Linked DNA regions of Homo sapiens: regions 1 and 3 are each linked to region 2. Evidence: promoter capture Hi-C in human tissues and cell types (Jung and others, 2019). All regions are on one chromosome and are shown on one strand. The core of a region is centred on a gene start or on the middle of the fragment in contact, and the rest is flanking DNA. Distances in the headings are between cores, read along the strand shown.

Evidence for each region. Contacts are between HindIII fragments. The study calls those that stand out against the background at their distance.
Region 1: a contact is called between the fragment with the promoter of TMEM86B here and the fragment with the promoter of LENG9 in region 2, in 3 of the 25 tissues and cell types used here (H1 embryonic stem cells, liver and mesendoderm cells).
Region 3: a contact is called between a fragment that was not itself captured here and the fragment with the promoter of LENG9 in region 2, in 2 of the 25 tissues and cell types used here (dorsolateral prefrontal cortex and neural progenitor cells).

Annotation. Positions count from the first base shown.
Region 1 is chr19:55,225,412-55,230,012 of GRCh38, reverse strand. TMEM86B (transmembrane protein 86B) reads left to right here and starts at 1,250. Exons shown (of 3, transcript NM_173804.5): 1 at 1,250-1,322; 2 at 1,576-1,822; 3 at 2,450-3,375. The coding sequence starts at 1,272. The coding sequence ends at 2,832. It overlaps PPP6R1 (protein phosphatase 6 regulatory subunit 1), which reads left to right. Exons shown (of 24, transcript NM_014931.4): 24 at 1-234. The HindIII fragment of the contact is 10,515 bases long and covers 1-4,601 here.
Region 2 is chr19:54,462,100-54,466,452 of GRCh38, reverse strand. LENG9 (leukocyte receptor cluster member 9) reads left to right here and starts at 2,675. Exons shown (of 1, transcript NM_001301782.2): 1 at 2,675-4,353. The coding sequence starts at 2,927. CDC42EP5 (CDC42 effector protein 5) reads left to right here. Exons shown (of 3, transcript NM_145057.4): 3 at 906-1,427. The coding sequence starts at 906. The coding sequence ends at 1,352. The HindIII fragment of the contact is 37,347 bases long and covers 1-4,353 here.
Region 3 is chr19:55,169,821-55,174,619 of GRCh38, reverse strand. It overlaps SYT5 (synaptotagmin 5), which reads left to right. Exons shown (of 9, transcript NM_003180.3): 8 at 1-103; 9 at 936-3,424. The coding sequence ends at 1,136. Among named protein-coding and RNA genes, the nearest start is that of DNAAF3, 5.6 kb to the right of the region's middle. The HindIII fragment of the contact is 4,464 bases long and covers 1-3,597 here.

The sequences.
Region 1 (4,601 bases), core at 1-2,500, 760 kb before region 2:
GTGGGGGCCGTGCCTTTGCCCAGACCCTGCACTTTCAACCAGGCCAGTCCGGCTCTGGGGAGCAGGGGCCTCCCCGGCAACAGCCCCAGGGGCCTTGAGGGTCTGAGGTCCCAGCCCTGTTGCCAAGTGACCTTGTCCCCAGCTCCCTCCTCCCAGGCTGGTGTGAGTGTGCGTGCGTTTGTGCCGAGCTTCTATTTCATATTGCAAATATAAATAAAGGAAGGCAGTTTACGATTCTGCTGGTCAGACCTTACGTTCTGGGATGCGGGGTGGGGAGCCTGTATTATCCCTGCACCCCAGAGGCTGGGGGTGCTCCTGACCCAGTCTGCCCCCACACTGTCCTGCCAGAGGGAGCCCTGTGGCTGCAGAGGCCCCAGGCTGGGCCAGGCACTGGCTGTGAGGGCTCCTGCCAGGTCTACCCCACCTGTGGGCAGGGCCTTGGGCAGAGGATAGAAGCCACCGACAGGCTCAAATCCCTGCTCCTGCCCCTGCTTACCCCCAGTAACCAAGCCCAGCATTGAGGCTGGGTACTGGCGCCCAGTAGGTCTGAGTCTTTCAGGTAGAAGGTAGAAGTGTAGGCTGCGTGTGCAGCGAGTGGCACCGGTGAGCGGCGCTGGGAAACCGGAGCGTGTGGACCGGGCCATGAGGACAGCGTCCTCACTGGGGTGGCAGTTGGCTTGGAGGTCACCTGGGGGCTCGCTCAGCTAACAGGAGAGGGTGCTTGTTCCCCGCATTCGTGGTGGTCCCTCCTGGTCACCCATTGAAGCAGTGTTTGTGGTGGAGCCCCTGAGGGCTTGGTGGGGTTGAGCAGAATGAGGAAAGGTTTCATGGAGCAGGGAGGGAGACGGCTAGGGCAGCAAGTGAAGGACAGACTCGCCTTCCCATCCCTCCAGGGGCACTCCTGCCAGCCAGCCCCTCTCCCGCTTCCCATGATGGGGTGGCTGTTGGAATTCTGCACCCCATCTCTTCTGATTGTTGGGGCCCAGGACAAGGGGACAGGCATTTGTGGGCCTAACCTCCCCAGGCAGATAGGAGGAGGAAGCCATGTCCCAGCAGGCTAGGGCAGAGGGACCCCCAGTGCCAACAGTGCTTTATCAGCGGGCGCCAGGCAGGGCCATCCCCAGGGTGAGGACAACATCTCCCTGGGCCCTGTTATCAGTCACAGAGTCCACAGGACGCTCCTTGGGTTAACGTGTAACCATGAGCCCTCCCCTCCACCCCCTGAAGCCACTCGCTCCCAGATTAGGTCGCTCTGGGGCTATCAGGCCAGCATGGACGCTGGCAAAGCGGGGCAGACCCTGAAGACTCACTGCTCAGCCCAGGTGAGAGCCTTCTGAGCTGTGCCTGGGGCTGGGGGGACAGGGCCCTGGAACCCCAGCAGCCGGCGGGTCTGGGAGCTGCTGTCCTTGAGTTGGTTGGGCCCTGGGAAGCTGGGTTCTGGCAGCCTGGTCCCTGAATGGGTCCAGCCTGTACAGCTGGGGTCCCAGGTGGGGGTGGGACAGGAGCCATGAGATCTGAGTCCCAAGAATGGGGGCTGGGCTGGGTTTCGGCTCAGTAGCTCCCCACTCCCCAAAGCGCCCAGATGTCTGCAGGTGGCTGAGCCCCTTCATCCTCTCCTGCTGCGTGTACTTCTGCCTCTGGATTCCCGAGGACCAGCTGTCCTGGTTCGCTGCCCTGGTCAAGTGCCTGCCCGTCCTCTGCCTGGCTGGGTTCCTGTGGGTCATGTCCCCAAGCGGGGGCTACACCCAGCTCCTCCAGGGAGCCCTTGTGTGCTCGGCTGTGGGGGACGCTTGCCTCATCTGGCCGGCAGCCTTCGTCCCTGGTGAGTGGAAGGTGCTGTGACGCTTTCCAGATGCCCGTGTGAGAGAGGCCCCAGCACTTGGATGGGAGCCTGGGTGCAGAGGGCTCCTGTGAGAGCTCCAGTGGTCAAAGGCACAGTGGGGGGCGCAGCCGTGACCGAGGCAGCTCACGCTCCAGCGAGGGGTGGGGGCAGGCGGTGTTAGGGCAGTAGCTGAGGTGGCGCAGAGGGCAGTGAGGACCTGCTGGAGGTACTGCAGTTTGAAGCAGGGTTGCTGAGGAAGGCCTCACTGAGGAAGTCACATTTGGGCAGAGCTGAAGGGCTGTATGCCTGTGTGGAGGAAGGGCGAGTGTAAAGGCTCCGGGGCAGGGACGTGTCAGGTGCTTGTAGCCCAGCAGGCCAGGGTGGCTGGCGCAGAGTGGCTGGAGAGCTGGAGGCCATGGGGCTTTGGAGGCCAAGGGAAGGTGGGGCCTCCTGGCAGTTCTGAGCAGAGCAAGGATGGACACTGCATGTGGGGAGACCTGCAAGGAGGCTCGGCCAGGGTGGGGCCTGGTGCTCTGGGATGGTCCTTCTCTTAGGCCCTGAGGGGTGACCTCGGGGCCATTCCCAGGATGGGCCTTCCTCACTGGTACCCCACCCCTCTCCCGCCAGGCATGGCCGCCTTTGCCACCGCCCACCTCCTCTACGTCTGGGCCTTCGGCTTCTCTCCCCTGCAGCCCGGCCTGCTGCTGCTCATCATCCTGGCCCCTGGCCCCTACCTCAGCCTTGTGCTCCAGCACCTCGAGCCGGATATGGTCCTGCCGGTGGCAGCCTATGGGCTGATCCTGATGGCCATGCTGTGGCGCGGCCTGGCCCAGGGCGGGAGTGCCGGCTGGGGCGCGCTGCTCTTCACGCTCTCTGATGGCGTGCTGGCCTGGGACACCTTCGCCCAGCCCCTGCCCCATGCCCACCTGGTGATCATGACCACCTACTATGCTGCCCAGCTCCTCATCACACTGTCAGCCCTCAGGAGCCCGGTGCCCAAGACTGACTGACTAGGGAGCTTGAAGGGCCGGTGTTCAGGCCCTCTCCTCCTGCAAGGACCTGGGCCTCCCAGCCCAGCCCAGCCTGAGAAATACCCTCAGCAGCGAAGCTTCCTGACGCCTGTCTGCAGGCGCCGCTGCCGCCGTCGCTTCTGGCTGAAGACGTTTGAGGACGATTTGCGGAATTCCAAGTCCACTACTGGGTTCCAGCTGCCTTCCCCCGGTTCTGACTCCAGATCCCTGGCTCCTCAGCCAGGCCCACATGGAGCCCTCCCAGCCACCAGCCTGCCTCCATGTTCACTGTCGGCCCCACAGCCTGCCCGCCCCCTGCTGCTGCTCTGAATCCGTTTTCCCTGTGGGTGTGGAACCGTAGATGTTGCTGTTACCGTAGGAGAGGCCTCGGGGAGGGTCATGATTGTGATAAACCATCGCGGTTAATGACAGCAGAAGGTTCTTTGTCGCTCCCCATGGACCAGGCCTGGTGCCCAGTGGGACCCTCCATGGCCCTCTGGTGGGGGGATTCGGGGGGATAAAGTGAGGATTGTGCAGAACTGAGCCAAGAGGACTGTTTGGTCTTTGTGTTAGTTTCCTGAGGCTGCTGTCACAAATTACCCCAAGCCAGATGCTTTGAAACAAGATGAATGGACTCTCCTGCAGTTCTGGAGACCCAAAGTCCAAAATCCGGGTGTTTTCCGGCCCATGGTCCCTCTTGAGGCTCCAGGGAAGAATCCGTCCTTGCCCTCTCGGCTTCTGGAGGCTCCCGGGAATCCCTGGCTTCCATCGGCCTGTGGCTGTGTCTCTCCGTCTTCATGTGACTGTCTTCAACTGGCAGCCTCCCTCTGTGTCCGCATCCTTCTAGGGACACAGGTCATTGGATTTAGGGCCCACCCTAAACCCAGGGTGATTCTATCTCAAGATCCTTAAGTATGTCTGCAAAGCCCCTATTTCCAAGTAGTGTCACCTGCAGAGGTATCTGGGGTTAGGACTTGGACATATCTTTCTAGGGGATACAACCCGCTGCAGTCACATGCAGTATCGGGAGAAGGGTGGGAGGCTTGAGGATGAGGGGTCTTGGAGGAGGGAGGGCGGCAAGGGGGTAGGAATCAAATGGGAAGGAGGAACCCAGCTGTGCTCCTTGTCAAGGCTGTGTGACCTCGGCAAGCTGCTATCCCTCAGGTCCTCAGATTCTGCATCTGAAGACTTGACAGGGTCCAAGCTGCTCTCCAAGACCCTATTTGACTTCTGCATCCATGATGTGCTTTCAGTGACTCATAGCAGAGGGGCGACTTCTCCATCCATGGTTAGCATTTAGAGACTCTTACAGCAGAGAGGCGACCTCTCTATCCATGACCTGCATTTAGGGACTCTTAGAGCAGAGGTGACTTCTCCATCCATGACCTGCATTTAGGGACTCTTACGACAGAGAGGGGACTTCTCCATCCATGGCCAGCATTTAGGGACTCTTACAGCAGAGAGGTGACTTCTCCATCCATGACCTGCATTTAGGGACTCAGATGTGAGAGTACAGAGGTGGGAAGGGAAGGTGGGGAGCCTGGAGGACGGGGACCAGGAAGGAAAGTGAGGACAGGAATCCACAGTTGGAGTGAGGAGAAGTGGAAGCTGAGGGATTTCCTTGAGGAAGGGTCAGGCATGAGGAGGATCTGAAGGATTGGACTCAGGTTCGAAACCTCCACTTCCTCCTCATCTCCTACCCTCTCCACTCAGACCTGGCGAAAGGTGGGGAAAGAGGAAATTGCGCAGTGAAGTGTAGCAGGAGGGAC
Region 2 (4,353 bases), core at 1,426-3,925:
CTTTTTATTGAGACAGGGTTTCACTCCTGTTGCCCAGGCTGGAGTGCAGTGGCCAATACAGTGACACGATCTCGGCTCCCTGCAACCTCCGCCTCCGGGGTTCAAGCGATTCTCCTACTTTAGCTGGGATTACAGGCATGCGCCACCATGCCCCGCTAATTTTTGCATTTTTTATAGAGATGGGGTTTCACCATGTTGCTCAGGCTGGTCTCGAACTCCTGGCCTCAAGCGATCCGCCCGCCTCGGCCTCCCAAGGTGCTGGGATTACAGGAGTGAGCCACCGCACCCGGGCCAACAAGCTGGAGTTTTCTATCAGTCAAGTCTGGGAAGCACTCTGAAGGGTTTGTGAAATATTTGTTACTTGACCTCTAGGAAGGCTCAAGTATTCGCTCTCAGGAGGATCGGCATAGCATGGTGTTCATAGGCATTCTGGAGTCAGGTTAGATCCAAATGTGAGCTCAGCAGCTGTGCCCATGGGACCTCCTGGAGTCTCATCTTACCCCATCTGTGAAACGGGAGGCCGGGCGCGGTGGCTCACGCCTGTTATCCCAGCATTTTGGGAGACTGAGGCGGGTTGATCACCTGAGGTCAGGAGTTCAAGACCAGCCTGGCCAACATTGTGAAACCCCGTCTCTACAAAAATACAAAAATTGGCTGGGTATGGTGGCGGGTGCCTGTAATCCCAGCTACTCGGGAGACTGAGGAGGAAGAATCGCCTGAACCCGGGAGGCGGAGGTTGCGGTGAGCCGGGATGGCGCCATTGAACTCCAGCATGGGCGAGACTCCGTCTCAAAAACAAAAATCAAAAAACAAAAAACGGGAACCGTCCCCCATCGTCCTTTGAGCAGTCGCGTGGCTGCGAGCCCCGGGCTGGGGCCGCGCTGACCCTCCCGTGCCCCTCGCAGATGCCCGTGCTGAAGCAGCTGGGCCCCGCGCAGCCCAAGAAGCGGCCTGATCGCGGCGCCCTGTCCATCTCCGCGCCGCTCGGCGACTTCCGGCACACGCTGCACGTGGGGCGCGGCGGCGACGCCTTCGGGGACACCTCGTTCCTGAGCCGCCACGGCGGCGGGCCGCCCCCCGAGCCCCGGGCGCCCCCCGCGGGGGCCCCGCGCTCCCCGCCGCCGCCCGCCGTCCCGCAGTCCGCAGCGCCCTCGCCTGCCGACCCGCTGCTGTCCTTCCACCTGGATCTGGGGCCCTCCATGCTGGACGCGGTGCTGGGCGTCATGGACGCGGCGCGCCCGGAGGCGGCTGCCGCCAAGCCCGACGCGGAACCCCGCCCCGGGACGCAGCCCCCCCAGGCCCGCTGCCGCCCCAACGCGGACCTCGAGCTGAACGACGTCATCGGCCTCTAGGTTCCCTCATTCCCCGCGCCCTTCCCGCCCGGCACCCCACTTCTGTATACATAAACGGCCAAGGTGTGTGCCCGGGCTCTGACTTTTCACTTTGCACGTGGAAAGGGATGAATGATAGGGTCCTGGCGCCTCTGAGAGCCGGATGTGTCACCCGGAGGCCTGGTCCGGGTCCGATGATTGCCCTGGGGTGGGGGTGCGGCTCCTTTAAGAGAGCCCGAGGGCGTGGCCAGGCGGTGCCCCTTGCAGAGGCGGCGGCTCCCGCAGTCCCATTCGTCAAATACTGTGCGCCACCGCCGGCCGGACGTGGTCCTGGGGCCGGGCCAGACTCAGCCACCGCGGGGCCAGCCGAGGCGGGGCTGCAGAGTGCTGCAGCCCCAGGAGTCTTTCTGGCCCTGAACGCCTCAGGTGGACTCCGACCCGGCGGAGCCGCCGTTTACTCTGGGAGCGGCTGCAGAGGGAAGTGTCTGAGAACACTTTTAGAGCAGTAGGGGCCTGGTCTCCGTGGGGGAAGGGTCCGCAGGCATCTTGGTTCTTTAAGGCCCCCGAGGGATGGGGCCGAACATGCAAATGATTTGGACTGAGGGGCCAGGTTCTCGTAAGTTTCCCAGAGGGGCGGGGCCGCAAATGTAAATCACTTGGACTGAGGGCGGGTCCAGGTTCTTTAAAGACGTCCCCTCATGGGCGGGGCACACAGGTATCACCGGGAAAGGGGCGGGGCACCACATGTAAATCACCGGGAAAGGGATGGGACACAGGTAAATCACCCGGAAAGGGGCGGGGCACCACATGTAAATCACCTTAAAACGGACAGGGCACACATGTAAATCACTTGGGGAGAGGCACACACGTAAATCACCCGGAAAGAGGCAGCACAAAAGTATCACTGGGAAAGGGCCAGGGCACGCATGTAAATCACCCGGAACGGGGCGGGACACATGTAAATCACTTGAGAAGGGGAGAGGCACTCGTAAATCACCCGGAAAGGGGCGGGGCATTACATGTAAATTACCCTGAAAGGAGCGGGGAACATATGTAAATCACTTGGGAAGGGGAGAGGCACACATAAAAAAAAAAAAAAATCACCTAAAAGGGGTGGGGCACTCGTAAATCACCAGGAAAGGGGCGGGGCACCACATGTAAATCACCGGGAACGGGGCGGGGCACTACATGTAAATCACCTAAAGGTCGAGGCACACGTAATCATCCCGAAAGGGGCGGGGCATTACATGTAAATCACCCAGAAAGAGGCAGCACACATCAATCACCGGGAAAGGGGCGGGGCCAGGCTCCCAAGAGCTCCGGGAGACCGAGACTGCCGCAGCCTTTACGCAGCTTGCTTTCCTGGCGCTGGGGGAGGGCGCAGCCGGGAAGTCCCAGAGCAGCGGTGTCAGGCTCTCCACCAAGGAGGGACTGGGCCAGAGTCCTCGCGAGGGCACGCGGCGTGGTCCCCAGAGCTAGGCCGGAGCGCGGGCCGCTGACGCCACTGTCGGGTGAGGCTCGGTGCATCCAAGGGGAGCCGCCCTCCGTGCGGGGCGACCTCGTCTGCGCGGCGGGCGTGCCAGTTCCCCGCACCCATGGCAGCGGCCAGAGAGCCGGAGTTGCCGCAGGAAGCCCCCGCCACGGAACCCGCGCCCCCGCCGGCCTGCCGCTTCTTCCTGGAAGGCCGCTGCCGCTTCGGCGCCCGCTGCCGCCAGCCCCACCCTGGGGCGCCGGCGCCGCCTGGCCGCGAGGCGCAGCCGGAGGCCGGGGCCAAGAAGCCGCCGCTGCGCACAGCCGCGGACGTCATCCAGCGCATCCGCTGGGACCCGCGCCTCGACCCCGCCGACTTCTCGGTGGGCTACGTCGACCGCTTTCTGGGTGTGCGCGAGGAGCCCTTCAGCGCCTTTTGCTGGGACCAGCCGCTGGCGGCGCTCGGGCCGGGCGTGCTGGCAGTGCCCCAGCACCGCGTGCGCTTCTTCCGCTTCCGTGGCCGCCTTGTGTGGGACCGCGCCTCGCGCACCGACCTCGTCTTTGGCTCTGGCTCGGCGGCGGGACGCGGGCCCACCATCCTGGACGCACCGAACACCGAGGGCGCCCACGGGGCAGAGGGTGCCGAGTGGACACTGGCGGGGACAGGTCAGGAGGCCCAGGCTGCCCCCAAGCGAGGGAGCACAAGGCCGCTCTGCACAGGGCACCAGGAACCAGGCGTGGAGGAACCCGGAGAGCTGGAGGCGGCCCAGGAGAGGGCGCTGGGCACAGCTGCTGATTTGGGAACACTGGCCCCAAGAGGACGCCTCGCCGGAGTGACTGAGGCACTGAAGCCAACAGCAGCCACCAGGACCACATTGCTGGGGGGCAAGGAAGCACAGGCCCTGGGAGTCCCGGGGGGCTCCGCTGAGACGACAGAAGCCGAGTGGGGTCCTGCGGCCTGGCCCGAGGACAAAAGGGCCCGCCTTAGTGTTGCAGCCCCTTGCCAACCGCGCCCCACACATTTTGTGGCCCTCATGGTGACCGAGCCTGGGCTACAAGCAGAAGTGACCAAGGCCCAGGAATACCTGGTCCACGTGGCCCCACACTGCGCCAACTTCCTAGTGCCCTCTCAGAACCTACACCTGACCCTGGCCCTGCTGCGACTGGCAGGCGCTGGGGAGGAGGCCGCTGCCATTGGAGCTCTGAGACGGGCCCTCTTGGCCCCGGGGCTAAATGCACCCCCTCGGCTGAGCTTTAGAAAGCTGGTCCTCCTGGGCCCGCATGTGCTGTGTGCCCCACCCTCTCCCACACTGGAAAGCATGGCACAAGTGCTGAGCCAGAGGCTGGAAGCCGAGGGGCTGAGTACACTACAGTCTCCAGGGCAGCTGCACCCCCACCTCACCGTGGCCAAGGTGCCCCATGGTTCCCAGGTCCACCTCCCCAAGCTGGAGTTCACCCTCAGCCAGGAAGTGGGGTGCCAGCCCCTGCAGACACTCTGGCTGTGCCGTATAGGGAGGACAGGGGGGCCTTTCCAGCCCCTGGCTGAGATCCC
Region 3 (4,799 bases), core at 116-2,615, 710 kb before region 2:
CGGCAAAAAGGTGCGGAAGAAGAAAACCACCATCAAGAAGAACACTCTGAACCCCTATTACAACGAAGCTTTCAGCTTCGAGGTGCCCTGTGACCAAGTCCAGGTGAGCTCAAACCTGCCCTTCTCCAAGAGCCCAGACCTTTAGTAATCGCCATTGCTAGGCGGAGGGAGACTTTTTAGCATCTCCCTAGAAACCAGGTGAGGGGGTCTGAGGTTATGCTCTCAGTCTGTTTCCTCCTATGAGGACCAGGAAGCCTCTTCCACTCCAGGAAGAGACTCCTTAAAATTGGGTGTGGGTGTCCTATCTGCTCTAAGCGGGACCGGGATGTCCCACCCCTAAGCAGTACCAGATGCTCCACCCTAAGCAGGATCAGTATGCCCCGCCCCACCAAGCGGAACCAGGATGCTCCGCCCCCAAGCAGGACCAGGATGCCCCGCCCCCAAGCAGGACCAGGATGCCCCGCCCCCAAGCGGGACCAGGATGCCCCACTCCTAAGCGGGACCAGATTCCCCACCCTAAGCAGGACCAGGATGCCCCGCCCTCCTCAGGAACGTGGTTCTAAGAAAAAGAGACCTCCCCTCACTTCTTTAGGGACGGCGCCTACCCTAGCCCGGCCCCTGTTAAAGTTCTGCAGCTTTGCGGCTCTTAGGAGGCTGCTCCCCCAGGAGGCGCCGAACACACCCGCTCCGCAACCGAGTCCTGAGGGTTCATTTCCTTAGAAACCTGGCTGCGCAGGAAGAAAGGCGCCAGAGCCTCCTCCTCGCCGCAGGCTCCGTCCCTCTCGTCTCCCACCCCCTCCCCCGTCCCGAGCTCCGGGGCCCCGAGCCCTCGGGTGGCAGCGAGAGGTACCCTCAGCCGTGAAAACGGACACCGCCCCTTCCGGGGCCTCCTCCCCTCACGCTCCTCTCTCCTCTTCCTCCCGCGCCCACCCCAGAAGGTGCAGGTGGAGCTGACCGTGCTGGACTACGACAAGCTGGGCAAGAACGAGGCCATCGGGAGGGTGGCCGTGGGGGCGGCCGCCGGCGGGGCTGGCCTGCGGCACTGGGCGGACATGCTGGCCAACCCGCGGCGGCCCATTGCCCAGTGGCACTCGCTGCGGCCCCCGGACCGAGTGAGGCTGCTGCCTGCGCCCTGACTCCCACCCCAAGCCCCCGGCCAAGCCTGGACTCTAGCCCCTGACCCCAGACTCCCGAGACCGGCCAAAGCCAAGCCAGCCCCACCCTTAAGCTTCCTCTGACGGTTACCCTCCCCCCACCTTCCACCCCAACCATCTGAACCATTCCTGTCTTCTCACCCCCAACGATGCCAATCACGACAACTTTCCAGCACACTCCCCCGACCCTCGCGGACACACCCAGATGCCCCAGGGACCCCGGGAAGGGAAGGCAGCCTGGTTTCTCCTGCCCCCGGGTCCTGCCCCCTGCTTTGACAATCAGCCATCCTCGTCTGCTCTCCTCTCTCTTCCAACACAGCCCATCCCTGCACTGCTCCTGGGGCCAAATAAATATTCAGCAGCTCCGGTGGCCTGGGCCCATGCTCCTTGATGGGGGTGGGCAAGGGCTGGGACCCAAGAGGAAACCTCGTTTCCAGGAATGGGCGCTCGCAGGGCGGTGTGAGTGCTGTTCGTCCTGAAAGCCTCTGAGAGACTGGCCTGACCCCATGGACTCCCTCACACTCTCACCCGTTCATTCCTCACTCACCACTCTGAGCCTGGGTTTCCTCCTCTGGAGAATGTTGGGATAATAATAATTCCTGCCACACGCTGGCTGTGAGGAGTCCGCGAGAACTCCCTTGCTTGTCCATGAATTTATCCACTCGCTTGCTCACCCATGACTCACATCGATTTTCATACCCATTTCTGCATCCCTCCCTCCCTCTCTTTTTTTTCTTCCTTCCATTCCATATTCCCTGAGGTCTTCTGTTGAGTGCTGGGGCCCCAGAATATCCAAACACAGACCTGACCCCCCAAGCGACTTACTGCCATCAAAACAAAGGAGAGGCGCGGAGCCAGGGAATACAATCTCCAGAGCCTGCGAGAGAGGTTGGAGTTCAGCAAGGAAAGCCAATGATTTCAACTTCACCTCTTTCTTTTTTCTTTTCTTTTTTCCTTTTTGTTTTCTTTCTGTCTTTCCTTTTCTTTCTTTTTCTCTTGTTTTTTTTTTGTTTGTTTGTTTTTTTGTTTTTGTTTTTGTTTTTTTGAGATGAAGTCTCACTTTGTCGCCCAGGCTGGAGTGCAGTGGCACGATTTCGGCTCACTGCAAGCTCCTCCTCCCGGGTTCACGCCATTCTCCTGCCTCAGCCTCCCGAGCAGCTGGGACTACAGGCGCCCGCCACCACACCCGGCTAATTTTTTTGTATTTTTAGTAGAGACGGCATTTCACCGTGTTAGCCAGGATGATCTCGATCTCCTGACCTCGTGATCCGCCCGCCTCGGCCTCCCAATGTGCTAGGATTACAGGCGTGAGCCACCGCGCCCGGCCCTTCTTCTTTTCTTTTCTTTTCTATTTCTTTTCTTCTCTTCTTCTTTTTTTTAATTTTGAGACGGAGTTTCGCTGTTGTTGCCCAGAATGGAGGGCAATGGTGCAATCTCGGCTCACCGCAACCCCTGCCTCCCGGGTTCAAGCGATTCTTCTGCCTCAGCCTCTTCTTTCTTCTTTTTTTGACAGGGTTTCTCTGTGTACCCTGGCTGGAGTGCGGTGGGGCAATCATAGCTCACTGCAGCCTCAACCTCCTGGGCTCAGGGGATCCTCCTGCCTCAGACTCCTGAGTAGCTGGGACCACAGGCACATGCAACCATGCCTAGCTAATTTTTTCTTTTCTTTTCTTTTCTTTTTTAGAGATGGGGTCTTGCTATGTTGCACAGGCTGGTTTCAAACTCCTGCAATCCTCCTGTGTGAGTAGCTGGGACTGTAGACATGAGCCGCCGCATCTGACCTCATTGTTCTTTCAACGAATGCTGCCTCCTACTCTGTTTCTAGCAAAGATGATAGTTCCATTGGCTTCTACCTTATCTCATCCCATACAGAATTTTGGGTGGTGAACAAAGACCTATAAGATTTGGCCAGAGAACTCTCTGAGCAGCAGATTAAGTGGAGAATGAGGCAAAAATTACCCCCACGTACCAAAAAAGGAGGCAGCAAACAAACTTACTTGCTCCTAAGCTTCCTGGTAGCCAATCGGGAAAGTGAAAATAGAACAGCTACACAGATTATAATATCCATGAGATTTTTAATTTTTCTCCAAAGGAATTCAGTAACTTTTCATGTGTGTGAGTGTGTGTGTGTGTGTGTGTGTGTGTGTGTGTGTGTGTGTGGCTGTAGAGCATGTCTTTATGAAGACAGCCCTTTATGTTACTACTATTACTGCCAATAATAATCCTCACAGCAAACTCATGAAATAAACATGATCATTATTCCCAGTTGACAAATGAGTCCAAACTGTGCTTTAGAAAATTTGGGGCTGGGCGTAGTGGCTCACGCCTGTAATCCCAGCACTTTGGGAGGCTGAGGTGGGCGGATCACCTATGGTCAGGAATTCAAGACCAGCTGGGCCAACATGCTGAAACCCTGTCTCTACTAAAAATACAAAAATTAACTGGGTGTCGTGGCAAGCACCTGTAATCCCAGCTACTAGGGAGGCTGAGGCAGGAGACTCGCTTGAACCCAGGAGGTGGAGGTTGCAGTGAGTCGAGATCGCGCCATTGCACTCCAGCCTGGACAACAAGAGCAAAACTCCATCTAAAAAAAGAGAGAGAGAGAGAGAGAGAGAATTCCTGTGAAATGCTCAGAATCACACAGCCAGAGAGCCTGTCTCTAAATCCTGGGATTGATTTAGATGATGGCAATGGGGTCCTTGGGTCTCTGTCTCAACAAGAAAGCAGAGCGATAGAAGAATAAAACCATTACAAATGGCCGTCCACACTGGGACCAAAACGTAAAAAGGCTGACATAACTTAGGGAGGGTGGTCAGGGGCAGCCTTGCTGAGGAGGTGCGGTCTGGGCCATGACTTGAATGACAAGAAGGAACGAAGCTTGCAAAGGTTAGGGAGAACAACAGTGGAATATTATTTGGTCATAAAAACAGAAGAAAGCATTGATTCATGCTTCAGCATAGATGAGTCCTGAAAATATTATGCCAAGTGAAGGAAGCCGGATACAGAAGGCTGCATAGTGCAGTATTCCATCCAAAAGAAATCTCCTGCACTGACAAATACATAGAGACAGAAAGTAGATTCGTGGTTGCCAGGGACAGAGGAGAGAGAAATGGGGAGATAAATGGGGTACGTGTTTTCTTTTGGAGTGATGAGAAAGTTCTGGAATTAGACAGTGGTGATGGTTGCACAGCATTGCAAGTGTACTAAATGTCATTCCCAATCAACTTAATAGTGTGTGTGTTTTACACCAATTTAAAAAGAAAACAAGGCCAAGCACGATGGCTCATGCCTTAATCCTAGCACTTTGGGAGGCAGGAGGATTGCTTGGGGCCCAGGGTTAGACACCAGCCTGGATAACCTCTCTATTTTTAAAATTTGTAAAGTTAGCTAGGTATGCTGGCACGTGGCTATAGTTCTAGCTACTTGGGGAGCAGAGGTGGGAGGATCGATTGAGCCCAGGAGTTTCAGGCTGGAGTACTCCAGCCTAGGCAACAGAGCAAGTCCCTGCCTTAAATAAATAAATAAATAAATACAGCCGGGCGCAGTGGCTCACGCCTGTAATCTCAGAATTTTGGGAGGCCAAGGCCGGCGGATCACTTGAGGTCGGGAGTTTGAGACCAGCCTGACCAACACGGAGAAACCCTG